Regions from separate parts of the Homo sapiens genome. Here regions 2, 3, 4, 5, 6 and 7 are each linked to region 1. The links are contacts of gene promoters, found by promoter capture Hi-C in blood cells and fetal thymus (Javierre and others, 2016). All regions are on one chromosome and are shown on one strand. Each heading gives the region's core, a stretch centred on a gene start or on the middle of the fragment in contact. The rest is flanking DNA. Distances are from core to core; before and after follow the strand shown. Region 1 holds the start of PRDM1 (PR/SET domain 1). Region 2 overlaps ATG5 (autophagy related 5). Region 3 overlaps LOC105377923 (a long non-coding RNA gene). Region 4 has its middle 3.4 kb from the start of ATG5. Region 5 has its middle 170 kb from the start of PRDM1. Region 6 overlaps ATG5 (autophagy related 5). Region 7 overlaps LOC105377923 (a long non-coding RNA gene).

What was found. Contacts are between HindIII fragments. The CHiCAGO score rates a contact against its expected background, and 5 or more counts as called.
Region 2: a fragment that was not itself captured here is called in contact with the fragment with the promoter of PRDM1 in region 1 in 1 of 17 cell types (activated CD4 T cells); the score reaches 6.1 in activated CD4 T cells.
Region 3: a fragment that was not itself captured here is called in contact with the fragment with the promoter of PRDM1 in region 1 in 5 of 17 cell types (activated CD4 T cells, M0 macrophages, monocytes and 2 more); the score reaches 7.7 in activated CD4 T cells.
Region 4: a fragment that was not itself captured here is called in contact with the fragment with the promoter of PRDM1 in region 1 in 2 of 17 cell types (neutrophils and activated CD4 T cells); the score reaches 6.3 in neutrophils.
Region 5: a fragment that was not itself captured here is called in contact with the fragment with the promoter of PRDM1 in region 1 in 1 of 17 cell types (M0 macrophages); the score reaches 5.1 in M0 macrophages.
Region 6: a fragment that was not itself captured here is called in contact with the fragment with the promoter of PRDM1 in region 1 in 1 of 17 cell types (activated CD4 T cells); the score reaches 5.9 in activated CD4 T cells.
Region 7: a contact is called between a fragment that was not itself captured here and the fragment with the promoter of PRDM1 in region 1, in 2 of 17 cell types (M2 macrophages and M0 macrophages). The highest score is 9.9, in M2 macrophages.

What each region holds. Positions count from the first base shown.
Region 1 is chr6:106,084,722-106,088,487 of GRCh38, reverse strand. PRDM1 (PR/SET domain 1) reads right to left here and starts at 2,152. Exons shown (of 7, transcript NM_001198.4): 1 at 1,893-2,152; 2 at 39-287. The coding sequence starts at 1,934. RefSeq lists enhancers at 1,805-2,524, 3,702-3,766. The HindIII fragment of the contact is 5,820 bases long and covers 1-3,766 here.
Region 2 is chr6:106,267,919-106,272,192 of GRCh38, reverse strand. All of the region lies in intron 5 of ATG5 (autophagy related 5), which reads left to right. Among named protein-coding and RNA genes, the nearest start is that of ATG5, 56 kb to the left of the region's middle. The HindIII fragment of the contact is 1,490 bases long and covers 560-2,049 here.
Region 3 is chr6:105,851,249-105,855,533 of GRCh38, reverse strand. The region is part of intron 2 of LOC105377923 (a long non-coding RNA gene); the gene reads left to right. Among named protein-coding and RNA genes, the nearest start is that of LINC02836, 220 kb to the right of the region's middle. RefSeq lists an enhancer at 2,003-2,504. The HindIII fragment of the contact is 8,272 bases long and covers 1-4,285 here.
Region 4 is chr6:106,327,140-106,331,280 of GRCh38, reverse strand. No RefSeq gene overlaps it. Among named protein-coding and RNA genes, the nearest start is that of ATG5, 3.4 kb to the right of the region's middle. The HindIII fragment of the contact is 3,241 bases long and covers 899-4,139 here.
Region 5 is chr6:105,909,906-105,914,066 of GRCh38, reverse strand. No RefSeq gene overlaps it. Among named protein-coding and RNA genes, the nearest start is that of PRDM1, 170 kb to the left of the region's middle. The HindIII fragment of the contact is 3,739 bases long and covers 194-3,932 here.
Region 6 is chr6:106,285,959-106,290,044 of GRCh38, reverse strand. All of the region lies in intron 4 of ATG5 (autophagy related 5), which reads left to right. Among named protein-coding and RNA genes, the nearest start is that of ATG5, 38 kb to the left of the region's middle. The HindIII fragment of the contact is 1,101 bases long and covers 1,648-2,748 here.
Region 7 is chr6:105,829,032-105,832,910 of GRCh38, reverse strand. LOC105377923 (a long non-coding RNA gene) reads left to right here. Exons shown (of 3, transcript XR_001744275.2): 3 at 2,718-3,146. Among named protein-coding and RNA genes, the nearest start is that of LINC02836, 200 kb to the right of the region's middle. The HindIII fragment of the contact is 3,141 bases long and covers 505-3,645 here.

The DNA.
Region 1 (3,766 bases), core at 903-3,402:
AGGTCCCCAATCTTCTTGTCAATAAACCAGAGGCTTACCTCTTCACTGTTGGTGGCATACTTGAAAAGCAGATTCCTTGGTAAGGATGCCTCCGCCTGAACCGAAGTACCGCCATCAGCACCAGAATCCCAGGGGTGGTCGTTCACAATGTATGTACACTTCTCTTCAAACTCAGCCTCTGTCCACAGAGTCATATCCGCATCCTCCATGTCCATTTTCATGGTCCCCTTGGTCCCCTCTGCCAATCCCTGAAACCTCACAGTGCTGGAGTTACACTTGGGGGCAGCCTGGAAGAGAAAGGAAAGGCCTTTAATCCCCATTGTCCCGCCGTTCCTGTGGCTCCTTCTGAGAGGCTATGACTAATACAGTAGTCTGAAGACTTTAAAAGCAGATGCAGAGTGCTTGGTACAGTTGAGAAAGAGCCAAGAAGCCGTATAAAGTAAACTGCCTTGAAAAGAAGCAAGGTTTTTAAATGCTACTCTTAGTTAAAAAAAAAAAAAAAAAAAAGAATGTGGCAACCTCACTGTGGGGAAAAGGAAAAAAAAAAAAAGAATCACCTCTGAACAATCCCTGGCTTTACCTCTCATGGCAGAAAAATGTTCTGGGCACACAGTCCAGTGTCCCAGAATGCCTGGGGTCATGGCCGCCAGACCCTCGGCACTGTGGAAAAGCTGCCTCAGAAAAGTGTCACAAACAAGGAGAGGAAGAGGAAGGAGCTCTGTCTGCCTCTGAATGAAGCTAAAAATGGAAAGCGCGTGTGGTGCAGGAGCGGAACCCAGCCTGCCTTTTCCAAATGGGGAAGACCGAACTTTCCCACCAGCTCCCAACGCAAAACAACTTTCAAAACAACTGCCTCCTCCCTCTGCTGCGAGCTCTCTTTCATCCTCTCACATGGAAGACTGAAAAGGGTTGCATCCTGCCAGCATCACTGAGCTACGGCCTCTTAGAAATCACTTGGACCACAGGAAAAGAGGAGGAAAAATGGGTGAAGGGGAAAACAGCCTGCAGTGTCTTCTGACTTGCAAGCATCTCATACCAAATTGAAAAGGCAAAAACAAAACATAAAACCGTTTAATAAAATTCCCTGGAGAGAATTCCTTTAGGAGTCCTCAGCTACAAATAGCACTTTCCATTTAAATCTGAAAGTGTATGAATTCCCAGAAGTCACTGATGTACTACAGTTTACTGTAACTAAAGTTATAACAAATTTAGAAGACTTGGAGGACAAGCTCTGCTTCCACTTGTACATTGATGAGGATATTCCCCCAAAATCCTCCCTCACACTCAGAAAAAAACTGTTTTCCAAAGGCAAAAAAAGGTAAACAACTTCTGTAAGGGTTTTCTCATATAGACATGTTTGATAAAAATGAGGAATATGGGTATCATTTCCATGTAAGAATGTGTGTTTGTTCAAATGTAAACATAACATTCTGTGGAAGTCCTTCAAGGAGGTTTTTACATTCTTCCACTTCTCTAAATAGGATGCTCTTAAAAAAAAAAAAGTTGGATGCAAAGTTGTTTTTCCCTCAGTTATGATTTAAGCAAACCTGCTTATTTTTATTTAGTTCCAACATGTAGAGTCATGACGCCAAACACATGTTAAAAATAAAATAAAATAGAAAACTTCAGCCAACCCGGAATAGTTTGACGAGTGTGAGCTGGAACCACTACTGAAATTTCAATGAATTGGCAATTATGTCTAGAACTGAAAGGGTTAATGATTCATAAGGAAAGTCTCACAAATGTTTGACAGCACTAAGTGCACTAAAGCAGAAGCATGTTTCTACTGCGACATTAGCCAAAAAAAATTAATAATAATAACAATAAAGGAAAAGAAAATAAAGTTTTCAGATCAATTTCAGAATTAAAAAAAAAAAATTCAAGTTCCTTACCAAGGTCGTACCCACACGTTTTTCCAAGCAAATATCCAACATCTGAGAAAAGTCTCGTTCATCTCTACCCAGTCCACATTCTCCCCGCGTCCCCCGCCAGGCTGAGCCGCACAGACGCGCACCTCGGCGGTCCCTCCTCGCTTCGTCCGGCCGCCCGGGCGCCCGCGTCCCAGCTCCGGGCGGACAGGTGCCGCGGTCGCTGCTCTTGCCTCTCCGCAACACTGGAGGGCCGAGTGTCACGGCAGCACTTTGTCTGTGTTAACCGTCTGGCTTCCCCTCCCTGCTTAAGATTTCCTTAGCCACTCGGCTGCGCGAAGTGGGGGCGTGGCCAACGTGGCCAACACCACCTGGCCGAGCCCAGGGCTTTCCCCCAGATTGCTAGCACAGCCGCCGAGAGCTTCCTCTCTTCGCATGTGTATTTCAACATTGACTTGGAATCTTCTTACTTCCCTTTGAAGGCACTTAACCTCAACGCTTACTTGGGCTCTATTGTATTCTAAACACTCCAGATCGCCCTCCTTCCTGGCGCGGCAGAATTAGGGGGCGCACGTTCCTTAAATTAAGGAAACTTAAAATTTACCTACACAGTTTCTGATTTCTCAGCTCAAATCCCCAGGTACAAAAGACACAAATCTTACTTCAAAAGAGCAAGTTAAATTGTTTTTGCAGCTAGTGTAATACAGTGGAGCTGTCTGGTCCTCAAGCTGTTGTGTATGTAACGCACGTTTCCCCGCCCCCCGCCCCAAAAGTTGTAACATTCCGTTTCTCCTGCTAACGTTCAAACTTGGCAGAACTAACTTTCCTCTTTTAACTATTTAGTAAATAGGGAAATAGGCAAAAGTTATAATTCTACAGATTGTTTGTTTTCCTTTCCTCTCCTCCCAGAACCCACAGGCTGACTTCCCAGGAGTGTAAGTAAAATGTAGAGCATTAGTCGTTTCACAGTTCAGAGGAATATTGAACTGATCACTGCAAGTGGAAAGCGGTCGGAGGCAGTAATTAGTGGGGCTTATTCTGAGCCCCGGCCAGCTTTTCCTCCAGCCCAGTCAGTCCTCTGTTGAAGGAAGGACATCCTGTGATGATGGCATACAATGTCCTGTTTGTTTATTATTAAGAGCGTGGACCTTGCATTCCTGCTTCTCATTACAAAACAAACCAGATGCTTTACTTCCTTCAATGGTCTTGTGCCTTCAGCAAGGAATCCTTTAATTCAGAGAAACAATGTTTATAGCAAACACCCCATTTCAATTATTATTTAGATCATTGAAATCCAGGTCTTCCATTTTTCCTGCTTGCCTTACCATAGGTAGGTTTTTTTAAAATCATTTCTCCTTCGACCTGCAATGTCTTTTCTAACATTTTAAATACACGTGTGCACACACATCCACCCACACACACACCCACATACACACACCCAGTTCCAACCTAATGATACCAACTTAGTCATACAATGAAATGGACATCTGAGTATTTGTTTACAGGAAGAAATGAAACAAAGCAAAACAAAAGCCCAACTCAATCCTAAAAAATATGTCTGTTTATCTTTAAAATTTCTTTTCTCACTTTTAGAAAACTTTTCTAGAATTTTTTTTAGGGGAGAGGGGGAGAGGCAAAAGATTATTTGCCAGGAAATGGTGTCTAAAGTCTTGCTGCAATCTCTCTCTCAGTACAGAACAATTAAATTCCCACTAGGGGACATGATTAGCACACACTCGCTGCTTGCTGCGTGGCCCACCTGTGATTGCATGTTATGCCAGAGGGGACGCTAGCACCAAGAGGAAGCAGGACTTTTAGAAGGCAGATCTGCTGGGGGTGGAAAACTGAATGAACAATTCCTAAGAGTCCTCAGAAAGCTCCAAGCTGATAATTAAACA
Region 2 (4,274 bases), core at 55-2,554, 180 kb before region 1:
AAGTGGGAGTCTATACCAGTGGTCATATCAGACCAGTGGTCTATACCAGTGGTGATATGTATTATGTGTCCTATGATGATGAGTGCCATGAGAGAAAAAGCAAAGGAAGATGAGAAAGGACTTTGTTGGGAAAGGGCGTTGTTATTTTAAATAGGATGGTCAGGGAAGTCCTCACTGATTGGATGACATTAAATGAAGACCTGAAGCAGTTTAGGAGATCATGCATATTTATCTGGGATTAAAAACTTCCTAGGCAGAGGGAACAGCAAGAGCAAAGGCACTAAAGTGGGAATATTCTAGGCACTTCCAGAGAACTAATCCTATGCATAGCTTTTAAAAGTGTAGATAAACACAGGTTTTTCTTCAAGGATACCCTTCTCTATTTCCCACCATTTTTTTTTTTAAAGCATTCTGTGTAGCAAAAATGGCACTTGTCTATATCTAGTTCTTGTGGGATGCAAAGCATTTTTTTGGCAGTTGGTTTTATGCTGTTTGCCATTAGCAATTATCATGTCTTGGATGAACCTCATTGGTTATGATATTGCCAGTACACAAAGCTTCGTTTATACTATTTTGAAAGCAATAAAGTGCTGAGAATATTGACCAATTAGAATTGGACCTGTTTACATTAAGGTGATTAGGGAAGACGTCTGATTATTTTCACAATCTAGCGGCTAGAGAGTCCAAGAGGAAGGTGCCTGCAATTCAGTGTCTGATGAGGGCCCTCTTCCTGATTCATAGCTATCTTCTCTTTGTGTCCTCACAGACTAAAACAGAGCTTTCTCTGGGGTCTGTTTTCTAAGGACAGTAATTCCATTTATGAGGACTCCGCCCTTATGACCTAATCAGCTCCCAAATGCCCCACCACTTTATCTATCATGTTGGAGGTTAGGATTTCAACATGAATTATAGGGGGATGTAAACATTCAGTCCACAATAGGTATGTTTTGAGAAGTCAAAAGAAGATAAGCATGTCTTAGGTGTAGTGACTGAGGAGGAAGTGTGGCCCGAGATGAGTTTGGAGAGATGAGAAAGAACCAAATTATCTAAGGCCTTGTAGGCCAAGGAAAACAATTTGGATTTTAAGCTATTGGAGGACTTTTAAGCAGGGGAGTGATGAGATGTAGAATATGATATAAGAGCTGTTCAATGTAGAATGGAATAGGAGTCCAGAATGAAAGTGGCTCTAGTAATAGTCTTAGGTATAAGAATATGGTGATATTTAGGGTGATGTTGGGAGAGATGGAGAAAAGTCAGTAAATTTGGGGCTTATTTTAGAGGTAGATTGGCAGAGCCTGTTGTTAGGCTGGATGTAGAGGATGGGTTAAAAACAAGGAAGGAATTATTCCTGGGTTATGATTTGGGCAGCTGCATGGAGAGTGGTGCTTTATACTGAGATATGAAATATTAGATAATGAGATGGGAAGTAAAGCCTATTTGAGAGGCCATCTTGGAGGCTAAAAGTTTGAGATGTCTAATGAGGCATTCATGTAGAGATACACTGAATTAGATTTTGCTAAAATTAAATATTGTGAGTGTGGGACAGCAGATGGAGAATGCATAATAGACTAGAATCTAATGCTGCAGCTTCTAGTTTCGTACTGTGTTTACTTTGCAAATTAGTATAGGAATTTTAGCTTCAGGAATATGGCAGTGAATGTGTCACAGTCATACAAAGCAATGAAATATGGAGCCACCTCATTTATGTTTGCTTTTTTTGTACATATAGCTGAGCTAATTAGGTCATTTTTGTTATTATTATTATTTGCCTGTAGTACGTTTTGCAGGAAGGTGAATAATTCCAACCTGAAACTCTGTGTGTGGCATTTAAGAATCTACAACTTCGTGAGAAAGTTGCTTAAAGCAAATTTGTAACCTGCTTGAGCATTCAATTAAGTTTTACTATGGAACAAACAAGCATTTTACTATATATATTATATATTTTAAATCAGTCTCTTGGTGTTCTTTCTGTAATTAAAAATAATGGTGAGATTTTTAGAGTTCATGCATTTGCATTTTAATATAAAGCAGTAAAAAATTTGCTAAGCTTCTGGAGAAGGATTGCTCCTGAAATTACTTGATTTAAGTGAATAAATTAACTTTGTAATAATTTGGACTATAGCCTTCTACAGTGTTTTGGGTAGACTTGGCAGTGAGTATCATGGATAATAAAACTTGGTGAAACATTTAGGCAGTTATTTCGCAGTGCAATACAGATTATACTAATGAGAGGTGACAGCGTGCTGGCAGTCCTCACAGCCCTTGCTCGCTCTCGGCGTCTCCTCTGCCTGGGCTCCTACTTTGGGGGCACTTGAGCCCTTCAGCCCACCGCTGCACTGTGGGAGCCCCTTTCTGGGCTGGCCAAGGCTGGAGCCGGCTCCCTCAGCATGCAGGGAGGTGTGGAGGGAGAGGCGCGAGCGGGAACCGGGGATGTGCGCGGCGCTTGCGGGCCAGCTGGAGTTCCGGGTGGGTGTGGGCTTGGCGGACCCCGCACTCGGAGCAGCCGGCCGGCCCTGCCGGCCCCGGGCAATGAGGGGCTTAGCACCCGGGCCAGCGGCTGCGGAGGGTGTACTGGGTCCCCCAGCAGTGACGGCCCACCGGCGCTGCACTCGATTTCTCACCTGGCCTTAGCTGCCTTCCCGCGGGGCAGGGCTCGGGACCTGCAGCCCGCCATGCCTGAGCCTCCCACCCCTTCCATGGGCTCCTGTGCGGCCAAGCCTCCCTGACGAGTGCCGCCCTCTGCTCCACGGCGCCCAGTCCCATCGACCACCCAAGGGCTGAGGAGTGCGGGGCACGGCGCGGGACTGGCAGGCAGCTCCACCAGCAGCCCCGGTGAAGCCAGCTGGGCTCCTGAGTCTGGTGGGGACGTGGAGAACCTTTATGTCTAGCTCAGGGGTTGTAAATACACCAATCAGCACTCTGTATCTAGCTCAAGGTTTGTAAACACACCAATCAGCACCCTGTGTCTAGCTCAGGGTTTGTGAATGCACCAATCGACACTCTGTAACTAGCTACTCTGGTGGGGACTTGGAGAACCTTTGTGTCGACACTTTGTATCTAGCTAATCTAGTGGGGATGTGGAGAACCTTTGTGTCTAGCTCAGGGATTGTAAACGCACCAATCAGAGAATGGAAAACTTTTATTTTATTTTACTTTAAGTTCTAGGATACATGTGCAGAAGGTGCAGGTTTGTTACATAGGTATGCATGTGCCATGGTGGTTTGCTGCACCTATCAACCCGTCATCTATGTTTTAAGCCTTGCATACATTAGGTATTTGTCCTAATGTTCCCCCTCTGCTTGCCCCCAACCCACCGACAGGCCCCCGTGTGTGTGATGTTCCTCTCCCTGTGTCCCATGTGTTCTTGTTGTTCAGCTCCCACTAATGAGTGAGAACATGTGGTGTTTGGTTTTCTGTTCCTGTGTTAGTTTGCCGAGGATAATGGCTTCTAGCTTCATTCATGTCTCTGCAGAGGATACAAAATCATTCTTTTTTATGGCTGCGTAGTATTCCATGGTATATATGTGACACATTTTCTCTATCCAGTCTAACATTGATGGGCATTTGGGTTGGTTCCAAGTCTTTGCTATTGTAAATAGTGCTGCAGTAAACATACATTTGCATGTGTCTTTATAGTAGAATGATTTATAATCCTTTGGGAATATACTCAGTAATGGGATTGCTGGGTCAAATGGTATTTCTGGCTGTAGATCCTTGAGGAATTGCCACACTGTTCCACAATGGTTGAACTAATTTACACTCGCACCAACAGTGTAAAAGTGTTCCTATTTCTCCACAACCTTGCCAGCATCTGTTGTTTCCTGACTTTTTAATAATCCCCATTCTAACTGGTGTAAGATAGTATCTCATTGTGGTTTTGATTTGCATTTCTCTAATGATCAGTGAAGATGAGCTTTTTTTCATGTTTGTTTGCCACATAAATGTCTTCTTTTGAGAAGTGCCTGCTCATATCCTTCGCCCACTTTTTGATGGGTTTCTTTTTTTCTTGTAAATTTGTTTAAGTTCCTTGTAGATTCTAGATATTAGACCTTTGTCTGATAGGTAGATTGCAGAAATTTTCTCCCATTCTGTAGGTTGCCTCTTCACTCTGATGATAGTTTCTTTTGCTGTGCAGAAGCTGTTTAGTCACTCTGATGATAGTTTCTTTTGCTGTGCAGAAGCTGTTTAGTTTGATTACATCCCATTTGTCAATTTTGGTTTTTGTTCCCATTGCTTTTGGTGTTTTAGTCATGAAGTCTTTTCCCATGCCTATG
Region 3 (4,285 bases), core at 1,695-4,194, 230 kb after region 1:
TGAATGCAAAGCCTGCCACCCTCCAGCTCCTACACCATTCTGTGCCCCCTGCAGCCTCATGCCATGGGTATACCAGCTGAACTAGTGAGCTCACGCTTCTTTTCCAATATTTTGTATGAAAACGAGAAGACTCAGTAATATCCTAATGTGGGCTAAAAGAAAAAAAGGAGTGGCTGGGCACGGTGGCTCACGCCTGTAATTCCAGCACTTTGGGAGGCCAAGGCTGGTGGATCACGAGCTCAGGAGATCGAGACCATCCATCCCGGCTAACACGGTGAAACCCTGTCTCTACTAAAAATACAAAAAGTTAGCCGGGTGTGGCAGTGTGCGCCTGTAGTCCCAGCTGCTGGGGAGGCTGAGGCAGAAGAATGGTGTGAACCTGGGAGGCGGAGCTTGCAGTGAGCTGAGATCGTGCCACTGCACTCCAGCCTGGGTGACAGAGCGAGACTCCGTTTCAAAAAAAAAAAAAAAAAAAAAAAAGGAAAAGAAACAAAGGAGCAAATAAAAAACCTTGCTAAGTCAGCCAACTGTTTGGATTTTAGGCTAAAGATAATAGGTTTGCTTCCCTCAAGAAATAGGGTTTGGCTCTCCCTCTCCCTCTCCCCCTCCCCCTCCCCCTCTCCCCACGGCCCACGGTCTCCCTCTCCCTCTCTTTCCATGGTCTCCCTCTGATGCCGAGCCGAAGCTGGACTGTACTGCTGCCATCTCGGCTCACTGCAACCTCCCTGCCTGATTCTCCTGCCTCAGCCTGCCGAGTGCCTGTAGCGCGCCACCACGCCTGACTGGTTTTCTTACTTTTTTGGTGGAGACGGGGTTTCGCTGTGTTGGCCGGGCTGGTCTCCAGCTCCTAACCGCGAGTGATCCGCCAGCCTCGGCCTCCCGAGGTGCCGGGATTGCAGACGGAGTCTGGTTCACTCAGTGCTCAATGGTGCCCAGGCTGGAGTGCAGTGGCGTGATCTCGGCTCGCTACAACCTCCACCTCCCAGCCGCCTGCCTTGGCCTCCCAAAGTGCCGAGATTGCAGCCTCTGCCCGGCCGCCACCCCGTCTGGGAAGTGAGGAGCGTCTCTGCCTGGCCGCCCATCGTCTGGGACGTGAGGAGCCCCTCTGCCTGGCTGCCCAGTCTGGAAAGTGAGGAGCGCCTCTTCCCGGCCGCCATCCCGTCTAGGAAGTGAGGAGCGCCTCTTCCCGGCCGCCATCCCATCTAGGAAGTGAGGAGCGCCTCTTCCCGGCCACCTTCCCATCTAGGAAGTGAGGAGCGTCTCTGCCCCGCCGCCCATCGCCTGAGATGTGGGGAGCGCCTCTGCCCCGCCGCCCCGTCTGGGATGTGAGAGCGCCCGGCCGGGACCCCGTCTGGGAGGTGAGGAGCATCTCTGCCCGGCCGCCCCATCTGAGAAGTGAGGAGCCTCTACGCCCTGCAGCCACCCCGTCTGGGAAGTGAGGAGCATCTCCGCCCGGCAGCCACCCCGTCTGGGAGGGAGGTGGGGGGGTCAGCCCCCCGCCCGGCCAGCCGCCCCGTCCGGGAGGTGAGGGGCGCCTCTGCCCGGCCGCCCCTACTGGGAAGTGAGGAGCCCCTCTGCCCAGCCAGCCGCCCCGTCGGGGAGGGAGGTGGGGGTGTCAGCCCCCCGCCCGGCCAGCCGCCCCGTCCGGGAGGGAGGTGGGGGGGGGTCAGCCCCCCGCCCGGCCAGCCGCCCCATCCGGGAGGTGAGGGGCGCCTCTGCCCGGCCGTCCCTACTGGGAAGTGAGGAGCCCCTCTGCCCGGCCAGCCGCCCCGTCGGGGAGGGAGATGGGGGGGGGGTTAGCCCCCCGCCCGGCCAGCCGCCCCGTCCGGGAGGTGAGGGGCGCCTCTGCCCAGCCGCCCCTACTGGGAAGTGAGGAGCCCCTCTGCCCGGCCACCACCCCGTCTGGGAGGTGTACCCAACAGCTCATTGAGAACGGGCAGGGATGACAATGGCGGTTTTGTGGAATAGAAAGGGGGGAAAGGTGGGGAAAAGATTGGGAAATCGGATGGTTGCCGCGTCTGTGTAGAAAGAAGTAGACATGGGAGACTTTTCATTCTGTTCTGTACCAAGAAAAATTCTTCTGCCTTGGGATCCTGTTGATCGGTGACCTTACCCCCAACCCTGTGCTCTCTGAAACATGTGCTGTGTCCACTCAGGGTAAATGGATTAAGGGCGGTGCAAGATGTGCTTTGTTAAACAGATGCTTGAAGGCAGCATGCTCGTTAAGAATCATCACCACTCCCTAATCTCAAGTACCCAGGGACACAAACCCTGCGGAAGGCCGCAGGGTCCTCTGCCTAGGAAAACCAGAGACCTTTGTTCACTTGTTTATCTGCTGACCTTCCCTCCACTATTGTCCTATGACCCTGCCAACTCCCCCTCTGCGAGAAACACCCAAGAATGATCAATTAAAAATAAATAAATAAATAAAATAAAATAAAATAAAATAAAAAATAAATAAATATTTAAAAGGTCAAAAAAAAAAAAAAAAAAAACCTCAATCCATGCCCAGACTTCCTGCCTGGGCCTAACAAAGAAGCCTTCTCCTGCAGACCCCAGGACAGCTAAGCCACTGAGCTGGTTCTTAGCACCAATCTTCTAGATCAGTTCAACTCAAATTCCTTGCCAGGCTTGTAAGATAAATAAGGAAGCAACTGAGTGGGGACCATGGGGACCTGTCTTAAGGGGCAGCAGCTACTGCTACTGAACCCCAACCACCACGACTATGTGGGAATATGACCCAGTGTGGCCAAATTTTCCAGTTTTTGTAAGGGAATCCCAAAATCCAGACTTTTATTTTCTAAATATTGACTCAAATTTGTAAAAAGCTCTATGTAGCCCCAACTAAACATGTCTGTGGGCTAGATTAGCCCTTTGGCCAGCTGGCCACCAGTTGACCATTTCTGTAGACAAGAGTCTCAGAAAGGCAACCACAGCCTCAACTGTTACAGGATTATTTTCTACCTAAAGAGGCATGTGCATAAATGGCAGGATGCCCAGCACACCTCATTTTACTGTGTTTCACTTTATTGTACTTCGCAAATATTGCATTTTTTAACAAATGGAAGGTTTCTGGCAACCCTGTGTCAAGCAAATCTATCAGTGCCATTTGTCCAACAGCATGCGCTCACTTCCTGTCTCTGGGTCACATTTTGGTAATTTTTGCGACATTTCAGTTTCTCATTATTATTATATCTGTTATGGTGATCTGTGATCAGTGATCTTTGATATTACTATTCTAATTGTTTTGGGGAGCCACAAACTGTGCCCATATAAGATGGAAAACTTCCAATAAATGCTGTGTGTGTTCTGACTGCTCATCAAAAAAAAAAAAAAAAAAAAAAAAAAAAAGAAATAGGGTTTGGGGAAGAAGGGGTACAGAGCATAGAGAGGGTACTTAGATTACTATTGATGATGTGGATTTATCTATTAGACTGTAGTGCACCCTATGGGGTGATAGTAACAAGGTGCACTTTTTAATGTCTGAATTGAATGGACATCCGGGCAGGCAGGGATATTCAGACCCACTGGCTGACATAGCTAGACACTCGTAGGACACACAGAAAACAAAGGGGAAGCATTAAATTAATACAGGATGCAGACGTGACCCACTTGTATCTGGTACAGATCAAAAGTCAGTATGTCTGCTGGGTGATGGGCTGGAATAAAGGGGGCAGCTGGGGAAGGCCGTGGAGAAAGTGGACACATGTTGCTGGAACACAGTGGGAATTCTTATGGCCACCACCCCATTCCGGGCTGCTGCCCAGTAAATATGTAGACTAGTCAATAGGGAAAGTGACCTGCCAAGTATCATGGCCAGACTCCTGGATTCTTAGTGGATTTGCCTTGGTTAGTGGCATTTCCCATCATCAGGTTTATTTCCTTGATATGAAATATGACATTCACATTTTTTCCTGAAGTTTATTGTGGAGAATTAATTTCTAATCAAGTTCCTGGTGCACAGTCCCACGACTCGGGACCCCATCTGCGTTGCTTTGGGGGCAGCCTCCAAAGCATCTCTTGGATGCCTCTTTTGTCAGCATCTCCTCTTCCCCTCTCAGAGTTGCAGGCAGATGTGGCCGGCAGAGAGAGGTTAAGGAGCCAGCAACGAAAGACAGCTGGGGATCGTTAGCAACAATCAAGGCGCGGCATTAAGAGGCAGCAGGGGTGAGTGTCTGGGTTCTTACATTGGCCTGCCTGAGGAAGCCATCTGGACGGAGGAGATTCGCCTTAAACCTTGGCAAGAGAACTTTGTTCTGTTTGAACTTTCTTTAAAGCCCCAGAG
Region 4 (4,141 bases), core at 1,270-3,769, 240 kb before region 1:
GCCCCAAAACAATTACTGTAGTAACATCAAAGACCACTGATCACAGATCACCATAACAGATATAATAATAATGAAAATGTTTGAAATATTGGGAGAATTGCCAAAATGTGACAGAGACATGAAGTAAGCACATGCTGTTGGAAAAATGGCGCCAAAAGACTTGCCTGATGCAGGGTTGCCATAAACCTTCAATTTGTAAAAAACAGACTCTGCGAAGAGCAATAAGGTGAAGCACTATATAACGAGCTATGCCTCTGTTATGCTTCAGTGGTGGTCAGGCAGCAACACATTAGAAAGACCACACTTCGGAAGCAGCTGAAGTGTATTTAAATTTATTTATTTATTTATTTTTGAGACGGAGTCTCACTCTGTTGCCCAGGTTGGAGTGCAGTGGCACGATCTCGGCTCACTGCAACCTCCACCTCCCAGGTTCAAGTGATTCTCGTGCTTCAGTCTCCCAAGTAGCTGGGACTATAGGCGTGTACCACCACACCCCGCTAATTTTTTTGTATTTTTAGTACAGACGGGGTTTCACCATGCTGACCAGGCTGGTCTGAAACTCCTAACCTCAAGTGATCTGCCCACCTTGGCTTCCCAAGATGCTGGGATTACAGACATGAACCACCGTGCCCAGCCCAAATCCCATATATTTTAGATTTTGCTAATTGCATACATGAGATCCCATTTTTAACATTTATCATACTTTTGGGGAAGCCAAAAATAAAAACCCATCTCTGGTGTTCACTATGCTAATTAGCAAACCAAGCGATGTGGATCAAGATGGTGATACTAGGCGTCCTTGTGATATGTGCTCCTGAAGTGTGGTCTTTTTAATGTGTTGCTGCCTGACCATCATGGAAGCCTAGAATTCTCAGTTTGTGTGAGTAGAATCGAAGCTTATGTACTACTACCACATTCATAATATTACATTTTGTATGCTGAAGTAGGTTAATGTATGTTACAGCAATCATACAGGTTCTCCAGTTCCAGCAGGTGGAACTCCAGTTTGTAGCCTTTTTGTATAGGAATTCATGCCAGCTTTGTAGGAGTCTCCATTCTAGCAGGGGAGAGGTATCATTTGAGTAAGGATAAACGGATAGAGGAACAGAAGTGTGGTTGTGTTCTGGGAATGCACTGCAGAGTGTGCAGCCAAATGGAAGAAGTGATGCCTTTCCCCGTACAGATCCTAAAACTGACACTGAGACAGGATACGGTGATGGCGGAAAACTTTAACTGCTAGTGACTGCTGGAGACCCACTCTGCTAATGGCAGTGCATCTCAATTACTTTCAACGTGACTTGCTGATTTTCTCCCTCAGACATCGATGAAGTAACAAAGAAAACGACCACTTTCTACCTAAACTCTAAGCTATATGGAACAATTTAGATTATGAGGTGAAACTGATGGGAATCCTAGAAGAGAGCGCATGTTCAGCTTAGGTTACTTTGACAAACATTTAATAAATGCCAGGCATTATGCTGGGCATTGGTGATCAAAAAATTACCGAGGAAAGTATGAGGACCAACAAATCCAAATTGGGTGGGTCAGGAAATACTTTCCAAAACATGAATTGAGTCTTAAAAATGAGTGATGTGTGCCAAGTGAAGAAGAAAGAATGTGGTGATGGTGCTGGTGGGGGTAGTGTTCCGGGCAGCAGGGACAACAGCAACAAAGTCATAGAAGCATGGCATAGCCTTAGGGCTCAGAAGTCTTACAAAATATTGGATACTGTTGGATTTTTTGAAGCGCAAGGCAGGGAGAGCAGGGGAAGGAAGCTAGAAGGAAAGAAGAAATTAGCCATAAAAGACCTTGTTTACCATGCTAAGAAATTTGGAATTTGCCTAGAAGGAATCAATAAAAGGTGTTAAACAGAAGAGTGACATTGTTAGAATGCATTTTAGATAACATACACTGGTTGGATGCTGGGACAGGTAGAGCAGGACTGGAGGCAGGGAGATGGGGGGAAGCTATCCTAATAGTTCAGAAGTGATGAAGGTTAAAGGAAGCATTTTAATAGGATGGGAGAACATTTGAGCATATGTATAGGATGAAGGAAGAAACTAGTAGTAAGGGAAATCTGGGAGATGGGATAATTAGTTGGAGCAGTCAGAAGTGTTAGAGCTGAAGTATTAATAGAAGAATTAAATTAGGCTTAAATCATTCCTCTGAAACCAACAGGACAGAGATAAAAGAGAGCAGAATGGGACCTTGGGTCAGGAAGTAATAGCATGATAACAAGTGATGGTTAGGGTTCATGGAGGCAGTCAAGATAACTTACATTTTAGGAAAGTAGATTTAAATAAGTTTAGAATAAAGTTACGATCCCACAGTTTTGAGTCTTGCACTTTGTGAGGTGTGCAAAAATAAAAGCCAGACTTTACAACTACAAACTATTATAGTGAAAAGAAAAGAGAGCAATTTATTAACAAAGACTTCTTTGGAGTCTCTCCTTAGAAACCAGAATTTGGGAGGAGTTGTGTACTTGACTTTTGTTGAAAAGAGGACTTTATAAACAAGTTCGCACGAGTCAAAGGCTGCCTGAGAGTGCCGAGACCAGCTCGGTCGGGCAGACCCTAACCCAGCGGCGCTAGAGGAATTAAAGACACACACACAGAAATGAGCTGAGAGCCCCGAACAGAGATTTACCCACGTATTTATTAACAGCAAGCCAGTCATTAGCATTGTTTCTATAGCTATTAAATTAACTAAAAGTATCCCTTACGGGAAATGAAGGGATGGGCCGAATTAAAGGAATAGGTTGGGCTAGTTAACTGCATCAGGAGCATGTCCTTAAGGCACAAATCTCTCATGCTATTGTTTGTGGCTTAAGAATGCCTTTAAGCAGTTTTCCGCCCTGGGCGGGCCAGGTGTTCCTTGCCCTCATTCCGGTAAGCCCACAACCTTCCAGCGTGGGCTTTATGGCCATCGTGAACACGTCACAGTGCTGCAGAGATTTAGTTGATGGCCAGTTTTGGGGCCAGTTTATGGCCAGATTTTGGGGGTCTTGTTCCCAACAGAGAGTCACCCCCAATAAGCTAAAACTTGGAGGAAATGGTAAGGCCAACAAAAAGAGCTCTTTAAAAGTTATCTTCATAGAAAAAAAATTAAAAATTTGCAGTGCCACTGATTTGGAGAAAAGGCATAATGTTCACAAATGGAAATGACAGAGACGAAACATACAATTCCCTTTATTTCCAAATTTTTGCTCAAGGAGCATGATCATCATATAGAAACAAGTGTAACAACTATTTAATAGGAATGCTGATAACTGGACCATATCCAGAGGAGAGATATGGCATGTGAAGAATGGCTGAAAGAAATGACAATGTTTATCCCTGAGTGCATTACGGGGCACAAGAGCTACCTTTTCATATTGAAATGCTGTCTTTTAGAAGAAGAGTTAGTTATTTCTGTTGTATGTTGTAGATGGGTGAGGAAGAGAGAAGGACAAGGGGAGAAAGAAAGAAAATGGTCAATTTATAAAAATTACAGGAAGTTGAATTTTAAGTCAAATCAAGTAATCACCTTTCACCTATTGGGTTTCTTCATACATAGTTTCCCCCAAAACAATTTTTTTTTTTTTTTGAGACAGGGTCTCTCTCTGTTACCTAGACTGCAGTGATACAATCATAGCTCACTGCAACCTTGACCTCCTGGGCTCATGTAATCCTCCTTCCTCAACCACTGGAGTAGCTGGGACTGTAGGCGCATGCCACCATGCCCTCCTAATTTTTGTGTTTTTTGTAGAGATGTGGTCTTGCCATGTTGTGCAGGCTGGTCTTGAACTCCTGGGCTCAAGCTATCCTCTTACCTGGGCCTCCCAAAGTGCTGGGATTACAGGCATGAGCCACTGTGCCTGGTCCCAACATTTTGTTAGGAAATAATTTTGAACACACAGCAAAGCTGAACAAATTTTACAGTGAATACCCATTTACAATGAACCTAGATTCTACCATCTAGATTCTACCATTATATTTTACCATTATATTCTACCATTATATTTTACTATATTTGGTTAATCACATATTTATCCATCTATGCGCCCCTAAATCCATCTTATTTTTTAGATACATTTTAAAGGAAATTTTATATACTTTTGTCTGACACTGGGAAGGCAATGCACCTTAATCCCACAAGCTTT
Region 5 (4,161 bases), core at 814-3,313, 170 kb after region 1:
AACATACGCAAAAATTAACTCAAGATGGATTAAAGGCTTAAATATAAGACCTGAAACTATAAAAATTCTAGAAGAAAACCTAGGCACAACTTTTCTTGACATGGGTCTAGGCAAAGAATTTATGATTAAGACCTCAAAAGCAAATACAACAAAAACAAAAATGACAAATAGGGCTTAATTAAACCAAAAAGCTTCTACACAGCAAAAGAAACAACCAACAGAGTAAACAGACAACCTACAGAATGGGAGAAGATGTTTGCAAACTCTATGTCCAACAAAGGACTGATATTCATAATCTATAAGTAATGCAAGCAGTTCAACAAGAAAAAAATAACTTCATTAAAAAGTGGATAAAGGATGTGAATAGACATTTCTCAAAAGATGTACAAGCAGCTAACAAACATGAAAAAATGCTCAACATCACTAATCAGAGAAATACAAATTAAAACCACAATGAGATAGCATCTCATACCAGTCAGATGGCTATCATTAAAAAGTCAAAAAACAACAGATGTTGGCGAGGATGCAGTGAAAAGGGAATGCTTATCTACTGTTGATGGAAGTAAATTAATACAACCTTTATGGAAAACAGCATGGAGATTTCTCAAATAATTAAAAATAGAACTGCCATTTGACCTAGCAATCCTAGTACTAGGTATCTATCCAATGGAAAAGAAATTGGATATCAAAAAGACACTTTCACTCGTATATTTATCACAGCATTATTCACAATAGCAAAGTCATGGAATCAACCCAAATGTCCATCAATGGATGATTGAATAAAGAAAATGTGAGATATATATATATATATATATATATATATATATGAATACTATGCAGCCATAAGAATGAAATCATGTCTTTTGCAGCAACATGGATGGAGCTGGAGGCCATTATCCTAAGTGAAATAACTCAGAAACAGGAAATCAAATACTGTATCTTCTCACTTATAAGAGGGGGATAAGCAATGGGTGCACATGGACATGCAAAGGGAAATAACAGACACTAGAGACTCCAAGAAGGAGGAGTTTGGGAGGCAGATGAGGGCTGAAAAATTACCTATTGGGTACAGCATTCACTATGTGGGAGATGGGCACACTAGAAGCCCAAACCTCACCATTATTCAATCTATCCATGTAACAAACCTGCACATGTACACCCTGAATCTATAAAAATAAAAAAAATTTAAATAATTAGGGTTTGGGCATATAGATTGTTTTGAAAATATTAGCTGTGTTTATTTCCTTCCCCTTAATAAAATATTCTCCCTGAGTTCTGCCTGCAAACTGTGTCAGAATGATCTTTAGAGTTTGGTATTTAAACCTGAAACAGAAAACAGAATAAAGAATTAACTATCGGCCGGGTGCAGTGGGTCACACCTGTAATTTCAGCACTTTGGGAGGCCAAGGCAGGCAGATCACAAGGTCAGGAGTTCAAGACCAGCCTGGCCAATATGGTGAAAACCCATCTCTACTAAAAAAATACAAAAATCAGCCGGGTGTGGTGATGTGCGCCTGTAGTCACAGCAACTCGAGAGGCTGAGGAAGGAGAATCGCTTGAACCCGGGAAACGGAGGTTGCAGTGAGCCAAGATCACGCCACTGCACTCCAGCCTAGGCGACAGAGGGGGACTTCATCTCAAAAAAAAAAAAAAAAAAAAAAAGGAAAAAAAAATGCAAGATTAGGAATCTAGGGAAATGATGAGGATTATTATATCTTTGCTAGAGGCATATAATGAAATTATTATACTATATAGTAAATCACATAAAATAGGAAATAATACCATTTATTTGCCTTGAAAGATATACAAGTCCTATATTGACAGCAAATGTATTATTGCTTCTAAGTCACATGAGACCTAAATATTCCTGCCTCAGCCTGGGTTCCTAAAAAAGCAGAGTCTGAACCAAACTTATAAGTGCAATTATTCCAGGAGGCACTAGAGAAGGAGGGAGACACAAAGCAGATGTGTAATATAGAGTCAATCACCCTGTGGGCCACTGGTACTTGATCACCCTGGGTCTGCTTGAGAAACTGATTGAAATGGTTTTCCATTTCATTTGGAGGTTGCAGGGGGGAGAAGATGGAAACATTTATTAATCAGTTCCTAACCCCATTGGTCAAAATTCCACCCCAAGTGTGTTAAAAACCCCTCTCCCCAGACTCAACAGGGAAGCCCTGGAGTGGGAGGCAAGAGGCTTGTTTAAGGAATGGTTCTTTGGGTTACACTTATGTGAGGTTGATTGGAGTCTGTGCAAAACCAGTCGCTACAGTGGTTTTTGGAATAAGTGAAAGGTGGGGCAAAGAGAATCTGATACAGGGCACAAAAGGTATCACACACATCCTTCAACCTTACCATCTTATGGGGACAATAAATTTACATTAACATAATTACCAGAATCTTGCTGCCTCCAAGCTCCAGCTAGCTCACTTGGGAACTCCAGGACTTTGCACAGACTTCCTTCCCCAAGTGTTGAATAAGTCCACAGAGGGTGCCTAATAAAAGCTCTGATGGTGCCCCTGACTACAAAATTCCTGGCTTCTGCTGTACTGCCAGTTCCTTATCTGACTCCAGAGCTGGCAGTCCTCCTGCTTCTCCTCAGGAGTTTGGCATTCTCTTGCAAAGTGGGAAGAATGTTGTGCCTCCGGAGAATTGCTTGGACCTATGGAACATTATAGAACTTAATGAGCCTGCACTTTCCATGCATAAGGCCAGTGAACCCAGCCACCGTGCATCCCTGGGGTGCTTGTGTGCCTCTAGGAGAGCTGGGGAAAATGATTGATGTGCCAGCTGCCATGCCATAGTCAGGACTCACCTCTGCTCAGGAGCTCAGGGTCTGAAGGGCATTGTGGCTGGCATGGCTGGTTTTTCACATTACTTTCCTTTATAGTTAACTTCATTTTCGGGTGTGTGTGTTTGCACGTGCACTGGTTTCTCTTCCTCTCTTTATTCTTCTTTATTTTCATTCCTTCCCTGCCTCCACCAAGTCTCCCAGATATGTCTCAAATATCTAATTCTCAGCCAGGGGCATGGCTTGAGATTTTCTCCAGGATTCTCCTTGGTCCTTATGTAAATTATGAGGGCAAATAGATACTTGGATGGGATTTGGATATCGCCAAATTCCACACGCCAGAGACACATGTATCTTGGCTCTGGCCCAGGTGGGATCTAATCTGTATCACAAGTTATATATCTTATCTCTACTATCCTAAGGACTCTATGGATCATTCCATAGATGAAGCTGAATAAAATCCTTATGAATATGTATAGTTGACCTTTGAACAACATGGGGGTTGGGGCTCTGACCTCCCAAGCAGTAGGAATCTACATATAACTTTAGACTCCCCAAACACATAACTACCAATAGCCTATTGTTGATTGGAAGACTTATTGATAACATAAACAGTTAACACATATTTTATATGCTATATGTATTATATGCTGTAGTCTTATAATAAGATAAGCTAAAGAAAAGAATGTTATTAAGAAAATCACAAGGAAGAGAAAATATGTTTACTATTCAGTAAGTGAAGTGGATCACCATAAAGGTCTTCATCCTCATCACCTTCATGTTCAGTAGGCTGAGGAGGAGAAGGAAAAAGAGGGGTTGGTCTTGCTGTCTCAGGGGTGGCAGAGGCTGAAGAAAATCCAATATAAATGGACCCATGCAATTCAAACCTGTATTGCTCAAGGGTCAACTGCATTTAATTTAGAACAGAACAAATCTTTTCTTCTAAATGCAGATGATCCAAATTCAAAGAAAAAAAGAACATGTATTTTACCTTAAACACTAGTAGACTTAAGTTAGGTGAACCACCTTAAGTGTGTATCAGCCAGCCTAGGCTATGTCTTTGTGACCTGAGGGATAGAGGAAAATAACAAGACTTTAACATTCCTACTTTGCTGCTGGAGAATTTGAGGCACGAGAAGCTTCAGACATAGCCTAGCACAGTGGTTCTCAAACTAAATCTTGCATCAGAATCACTTGGAGCGCTTGTTAAAACAGATTGCTGGGCCCCACTCCCACATACTCTGATTCTGTAGGCCTGGGGCTGGGCCCGAAAATTTTCATTTCAAATAAGTTCCCTGGTAATAATGACACTGCTGGTCCAAATACCATACTTTGAGAACCGCTGGTCTAGTAGCTTCAGCTTGAGATCA
Region 6 (4,086 bases), core at 949-3,448, 200 kb before region 1:
TCTCAAAATAATAATAATATAATAAACTGAACTTGTTAAATTTGGTGTAGTATTGAAGAATATCCACAAAGCCAAAAAGGCTATTAAAATACTTCTTTTAAACTACATATCTTTGTGAGCCTGAATTTTCTTTATATACTTCAACCAAAACAACATATTGTAGAATATTGAACATAGAAGCAAGTTTAAGGTAATCCATTGGTTGTCTATTAAGGCATTAAAGTTATTTGCAAAAATACAAATTAGTGCCAGTGTTCCTGTTTTTTTTGTTGTTGTTGTTCTGGGAAACATAGTTGATTTTTGTGGAAATACAATTTTAGTGTTAATGTATAGTGGTTTTATTCTTGGTATTTTTAAGTGAATTAATGTTTTTTTTAAATGTTTCAGCTCTAATTTCTAGTGTAAATATCAGTAATATAATCCACATAAATATAAACTCTTTGGGATCCTTAGTAGGTCATACATTTTCTTCCCAGTAGAAAAGTTTATTAGCAAATAGAAAAAAGAATCTTACAGTTAATAAGGAAATTACAGAGAACATTTAGAGTTTGTTCAAGCTATCAGTGTGTTTCTTTCAGCTGTTCTTACTTATTCTTATCCTGGCCTGTTAGAGGAAAGTTATTGCCCAGATTTTTTTTTTTTCTGTATATACTAAGTTCCATTCATTTAGGGGAGCATCAGGACCTAGGTTACTTCAAAGGTTGTCTTCACATGTTTAATTGATAGCTTGTACTGATTGATGTAGGCCTGCCTCTATTGTACTGCCTTATAGATTTTTGATTGATTATAATGAAACTGGGTAAGTGTTAATTTTCAGGCAGAAAATCAATGCTTTTAGTGAGGAAGTGGTTTTTAAAGTTTGTAGAAAATAGTTTATACATTCAACAGATTGGATGTATTGAGTAACAATTTTGTGTCACTTGGTGTCTCTGCATTTATCTTCTGTGGTGTTGTATTGAGTATGCCAGATAATGTTGATGTTTTAACCAGACTTCTTAGAATTTCTTTTACAATTGTTTTCAAAGGTTGTAATAGATTTTGATTAGATTTTTTTGTGCAATATCAAAGCTTCTAAGAGATCCTGTTGCCTCTGCCACACACACACACACATTTGGATCAGTAGTTCAGACTAAACTCTTCAAAAAAACACTGTTAAACAGTTTTCAAACAGACATATTTCCTCTAATTTTTAACTGACTTTGATGTTTGTGATTTGTATAGGTTTATAATGTTTATAATAAATGCATTTTAATGTCTACAATAGTGATTTTCAAACTTTAATGTGCTTTCAAGTTACCTGTGTCTCTTACTAAAGTGCAGTTTCTGATTCTGCAGCATTGGGTTGGATTCAGAGAGATTCTGCATTTCTTACAAGTGCATAGGTAATGCTATGATATTGTTCCACCAGACCACATGTTGATTAACAAGAGTTAGAGAACAATGAAGATCTAAAAGTTAATGGTAATTGTCTGTAGAACCAAAAGCTTTTAAGGGTGAATCAGAAAATTAATATTTTTATAGGCATTTTTGTATTTTCTATTTTCTGGGAGATAAATATAATTGTAGAGTGTTAATTGCTTTATAACATATAGATTTGGATGTATGTTTTGTTTACCAAAACAATGAAAATGGTACCTTCTTCAAGCTTTTCTCATTGGTTTTTAAGGACATTTTGATTCCTAAACTTGGTGAGACTACCAAGAAAATTATCTCATTTCTGTGTCCCCAGTTTTTTATATTAAAAAATTTAAACATATATTAGAAAAATTAATTGTGCGGCAGGGCAGTGACTCATGCCTGTAATCCCAGCACCTTGGGAGGTGAGGCAGGTGGATCTCTTGAGGTCAGGAGTTTGAGGCCTGCCTGGCCAACATGGTGAAACCCTGTCTCTACTAAAAATACAAAAATTAGCTGGGCATGGTGGTAGGTGCCTGTAATCTCAGCTTCTCGGGAGGCTGAGGCAGGAGAATCGCTTGAACCTGGGGGGCGGAGGTTGCAGTGAGCCGAGACCATGCCACTGCACTCCAGCCTGGGCAACAGAGTAGACTCCATCTAAAAAAAAAAAAAAAAGTTAATTGTGGTCCAGTGAATACTCATAATACCTTTCACTTGGATTTGCTGCTTTTTAACATTTTGCCACCTTTGCGTTTTCTCTCTGTATTTTTTTTCATTAATTCTATAGGCATGCTGCTTGCAAAGCGACATTACAGTTAAAAGATTACTTACAGTATGTAGATTTTTTAAAATTAAAAAAATTTTTTCTCTCTTTGTCCATGTTGAGAACAGTGCATGGAATTTTTAAAAAAGGAGTTAATGTGATTCAAAAGTTTAATGACATCAGGTGAAAATAGTGGGGTCTTTAAAATGCCCAGTTCTGTTGCAAATCCTAAATAAAGTTTAATAGAGTAAACAAATCCTATAAAACCTTGGTGTTTTTCTTTCTTCCTCTTGGTAACATGGTGCTGATTTGGTGCGTTTTGGTTTTGAGGAGAGGAGACATTTTAATTTTGAATGTTGACAGCAATGATTAAGGGTAAGAGCTCACATTTGTTAAGTAAAATAAGATCAACATTCAGATAAGTGCTTATGTGCTGAACTCTGCTGAATGCCAGAGATAACACAAGTTAGGTTTTTGAACCAACTGTCTTTCAAGCACAGCAGGCAAATCCTGTTTTGCTTACCATGCTTGAAAAAGCCCTGCATTGGTCCTGACTGTTCCTTGAGTATTTTTGTGTGACTGAGCAAGCTTCTTTTCTGATGGACAAGTTTTTTCTTGCTAGGCCAAGAGCCACTGTGTTTCTTTGAAGGAATTTATCATGTCCCTCCTCCTGTTATGTGTTGTTGACATAGGTCTGTGGTAGCTTTTCTTTCCTGAAGTTCTTGAGTGTATTTCATGGTCTCTCCTTTGCTTCTATCACTGCCTGCACTTCCCAGCTATAAATGTTGGTAGCTGTTTTATAGTATCTATCAATAGTATGTTGTATTAGTTATCTACTATTGTCTGACAAATTACCACCAGCTTAAAACAACATTTGTTCTCTGACAGTTTCTGTGGGTCAGGATTCTGGGCATAGCTTATACCTGGATCTTCTGCCTAGGTTATGAGGGTGCCATCAGGGTGTTGGCTGGGCTGCGTTCTTAACTGGAAGTTCAACTGAGGGAGAATCCACTTGTAGACTTAGTTTGCTGGCAGAATTCATATCCTATGGTTGTAGGATTGAGGGGCCTATCTTCTTGTTGGCTGTCAGTAATAAGCTGCATTGACCACCTAAAGACCATGTGAAGTTCTTGTCATGTGGACTTTCCCAACATGCCTACTTGCTTCAGGGCAACAAAGAAAGTCTAGAGGTAGTCTGGTAGTAAGACAGAATCTTACTGTATAACATGACTTAATCACTGGGGTAACATCCCATCACCTTTGCCGCATTCTTTGAGTTAGAAGCAAGTCACAGGTTCTGCCCACATGCAAGGGGGAAGGGATTATAGAAAGATAGGAATACCAGGTGGTGGAAATCATGGAGGGTCATGCAAACTTAGAACTTTATGAAGTAAGGCTTGTTTAGTCATTTATTCATCAGATATTTATTGATGTTAACATATACTTTTAGCCGTGACAGAGTAACTGGTATTTGAGTTTTCCTCTAGTCATCAACAATTAGAAAACAGGACCAAAAATATGAAATAGAGCTGTTTTTAGCACTGAACCTTAGAAAGGGAACAAACAAGGTGAGCCCCATGTGCTTTGGAACGGTTGCCTGACGGTGGTACGGAGAGTGGAGCTCAAGCAGAGCAAAGAAGTTCAGTTGAGCTGAGGATGCACAAATTGGAGTTCTGGGCTGCTGAAGTGGTTGGAACTTGCTAGGCAGGGTATCAGAGAAGGAGGAGCCAAAGTGTACGTGTATGTTCTCCCTGGGTGCTTGGCTGAGGCCTGGGTTGCACATGCATAGCTGATACTCTGCAAGGTCTAGTAGATAGTGGATGTTGTAGGGTTAAGAGTGGACAAAAGATACTGAACGTCTTATGATGCTGGGAAATGTTGGATTCCAGCTCATTCAAAGTGGAGAGACATCTGGCTACATACTAGGC
Region 7 (3,879 bases), core at 826-3,325, 260 kb after region 1:
TTCTGTAGGCTCTTTGTAAATGTTTACAGCATATATCTAAGAGCAGACTTTTTGCTCTATGAGAACTTCACCATTGGATTTATATAATTTTCCAAGAAAACTCCCTTTCAAAAATGTTCTACAGCAAGTAATCTAAAAGTGATTTTTTTCTTCTTCAAAGAAAATTCCCTTTAGAAAAGAAGGAAGTGCACCAGGACAAAGGCGGCCAACTGAGATCAGTGACTCAATCTGTTCCATAAATTATAGCTCTGAAGTCAGTTTGAGTGAGTGCTCACATTTCCAAAAACATAGACTGTCGTGGCACCTAAGGGTGTAGAAATTGCTACAGAGGCAATTAGCTTTATAAAACAGAAAGAATCACTAAGTGCATGAACCCTAAGGTACATGCAGGCCCAGAAATACATATTTCAACAGGGAATTGCCAAAGGGCAATGGTGCATTGAGAAATCCTCCCCTACTCAGCGGTGAAAGTTAAGTCTGTGGTATGTACAGATGAGGGAAGCTTGTCTGTGTGTGACCTAGGTTGAAGGGAGAAGGTAGAGACTGCGTGGAATGGCCAGCGTGCCATGTTCTCCTGAGCCAGAAGAGCCTAATGGGCCCAAATTGTCTGTTTCTATCGGGGGTGTTCCTTGGGCCTTTTTTCAAGACCACAGACCATAATTCCTGGGAAACTCTCACTTAAGTGGGTGCTCTTGACAATGAGGAAAACTAGGTGAGAGGCCGAGAGCTCATCTGGACAAGTCTGTGGTTGGTACATAGAGAGCATAGTTACACTGGGAAGAGGTGTTCCCTTGAGACATCTAGTCACACATTTTAAAAAAATCACTCTCTTCCTTAAACTTTCCTTTTGGAAACTTGGCCACAACAAAATGTGGATGTTAAAACCCTCTATGAGAAGTCCTTGGCCAGTTCTGTGGATGTATTTTCACAGAAGGTTTGTCAGTCTCACTCTCTCTCCCACTGTGCTGTTTCTTGTGTCTCCCAGCTCATCTCGTCCTCCATCCACACCATGGCTGTCTGATTCTTCCCTACTGATGCAATTTTCCTGGTGCTCGGAGTCTGTAGGCTCAGTCACTGCCTTAGGTGCAGAACTTGTCTAGTTCAGTTACCTTTTCTGCAGCTGAGAAAAAACACAGTAATTTCTGCTTCATTCTCCAATCCACAGAAGCTAAAATCTATGGAGCAGAGCTGTTTGCCTCATTAGCAAAAGCAACTGAGAACCCCCTAGGAAAAGTACGTTTGAGTCTCCTCCTACTCATAATATGGTTTCAGGGTATGATTTCTTTTTCTGTTATGTTTTCCATAGTAGTTTCATTTAGAAATGCCTATTAGAGTGAAGTTCTGCCATGTCTCACTAACAAGCATGCAGGCCCCTTGGGAGTTGAAGCCCGCCTTTTACTCGTCATGTATCACATGGATCCTGCATAATGAATGGAGCCTCCTCAGATATACTTTGTGGCTGATGAGTTAGAGAATTCTGAGACTGTAATAAATTATTCCCTCTTGAGTCTAATGTCCTTCCCTATTTCACCATTTCCTATGGTAGTTCTTTTAAATATCTGAGAAAAGGTAGTGGATTTATTACCTTTAAAACATAATCTAATAATGAACTCCTCCAGTTGGTTGGCCCTTCCCCTCCTCCAGCTGCCCCTTCCCCTCCTCCAGCTGTCCCTTCTCCTCCTCCAGCTGCCCCCTTCCCCTCCTCCAGCTGCCCCTTCCCCTCCTCCAGCTGCCCCCTCCCCTCCTCCAGCTGCCCCCCTTCCCCTCCTTCCACTGTCCCCCTTCTCCTCCTCCAGCTGCCCCCCTTCCCCTCCTCCAGCCTCCCCTTCCCCTCCTCCAGCTTCCCCCTTCCCCTCATCCACCTGCCCCTTCTCCTCCTCCGGCTGCCCCTTCCCCTCCTCCAGCTGCCCCTTCTCCTCCTCCCGCTGCCCCTTCCCCTCCTCCAGCTGCCCTTCCCCTCCTCCAGCTGCCCCTTCCCCTCCTCCAGCTGCCCCTTCCCCTCCTCCAGCTGCCCCTTCCCCTCCTCCAGCTGCCTCCCTTTCCCCTCCTCCTGCGGCCCCTTCCCCTCCTCCAGCTGCCCTTCCCTCCTCCAGCTGCCCCTTCTGAGAAACTCGCTGGGGATGATTCGAGTGGTTTCTATCATAAACATTTAAACATTTCAGGATGCTACTTTGGAAATGACAGTCTTGTTTTGCAAGGCACTTAAGTCTCTATTGAGATCCATTGAAACTTGTCATTGTGACTGCCATTTTACATTCTAGACTAACTAGAAGGCTAGGTTAGACTCACCTCTTTAGCTAGAATGCAGCTTTTCTACATTCTAGACTAACTTCCCTACCCCCCACCTCTAATAAATCTGAAAAGATTTAAAAACAGTTTACAATCAGTTATGTTATTAACAGTAGATGTGGTAACTCTTTGAGAAGGAAATTTAGTTTAAAAACATTTGCAGTTAGGTGGAGTAGATTTCTTTCCCATGGCAAAAGAAATTGTTACTGGAGCAGCTGAATCATTTCTAATAATCTAAAAGAAACATGTAATGGGCTGAGTTTTTCTGAGAGTGCTTCAATGTTTGTGCTTTTCTGGTTACTTATTTCTATCAGACTTTTACCTTCAGGTTAAATCTAAGTGTAAGGAGCACCAAGGCTCAGTCAGCATGTTTCTTAGCCCCAAATCAAGGCATGTGTTCTCTGAACAAGAATTTTTGTCTCTTCTAGATGCAAGAGGAAATTTGGAGATGTTGCTTGAAAGTTTAAAGTATTGGTGTTACCGAACCATTAGAATATTACATATGGACAACGCCCATCCATTAGAATATTACGTATGGACAACATGGTGGAACATTTCGAATAAGGTTTGTCCCACAAAATCCAATATAAATGTTTGCTTTTGTCCTTTTTAATGATATTGCATTTGAATTATACTGAGTACATTATGACATATGAAGCTCTCAGACTGTAGGATGGGAACAGCCAGACTTTATGCAGTGCAGGTGCTGGCAAACTTTTTCTGTAAAGCATCAGAGAGAACTATTCTGGTTTTGCAGGTCATGTGGTTTATGTCAGAACACTTGACCGTTGTAGCACAAAAACAGCTATAGACAAGAAGTAAATGAATAAGTGTGGCTCTCTTCCAAGAAAACTATTTAAGGCCAATGATTTGAATTTTAAATAATTTATATATTATTTTATATAACATAATTTTATTTAATTTATATATTATGAAAATCTTTATCTGATTTTTTTCAATTACTTAAAAATGGGAAGCCGTTCTTTAGCTTGTAGGCTCTATGAAAGCAGACTGTGTGCGGTGGCTCATGCCTGTAATCCCAGCACTTTGGGAGACCGAGGCGGGCGGATAACAAGGTCAGGAGATCGAAACCATCCTGGCTAACACGGTGAAACCCCGTCTCTACTAAAAATACAAAAAATTAGCCGGGCGTGGTGGCGGGCGCCTGTAGTCCCAGCTACTCGGGAGGGTGAGGCAGCAGCATGGCGTGAACCCGGGAGGCGGAGCTTGCAGTGAGCTGAGATCACGCCACTGCTCTCCAGCCTGGGCGACAGAGCGAGACTCCGTCTCAAAAAAAAAAAAAAAAAAAAAAAAAGAAAGCAGACTGTGGTCTGGATTTGTCCTGAGGGCCAAGCTTTGCTAACTCCCATTATAGTGAATTAGCAAGTTAAGGATCTGAACCCAGGAGAAGACAGAAGTAAGATGTCATACACATTTCTTGGACTGATTGACTTTCTTCAGCTAGTAAAACTTCTGAATATCATACTTGGTTGTGGTTTGAGTGCTTGTTCCTGGTGGGAGTAAATGAGTGTTTTGGGGAACAAAGGTAAGGGGATTTATAAACAAAAATTTATTCCTAATGATAGCACC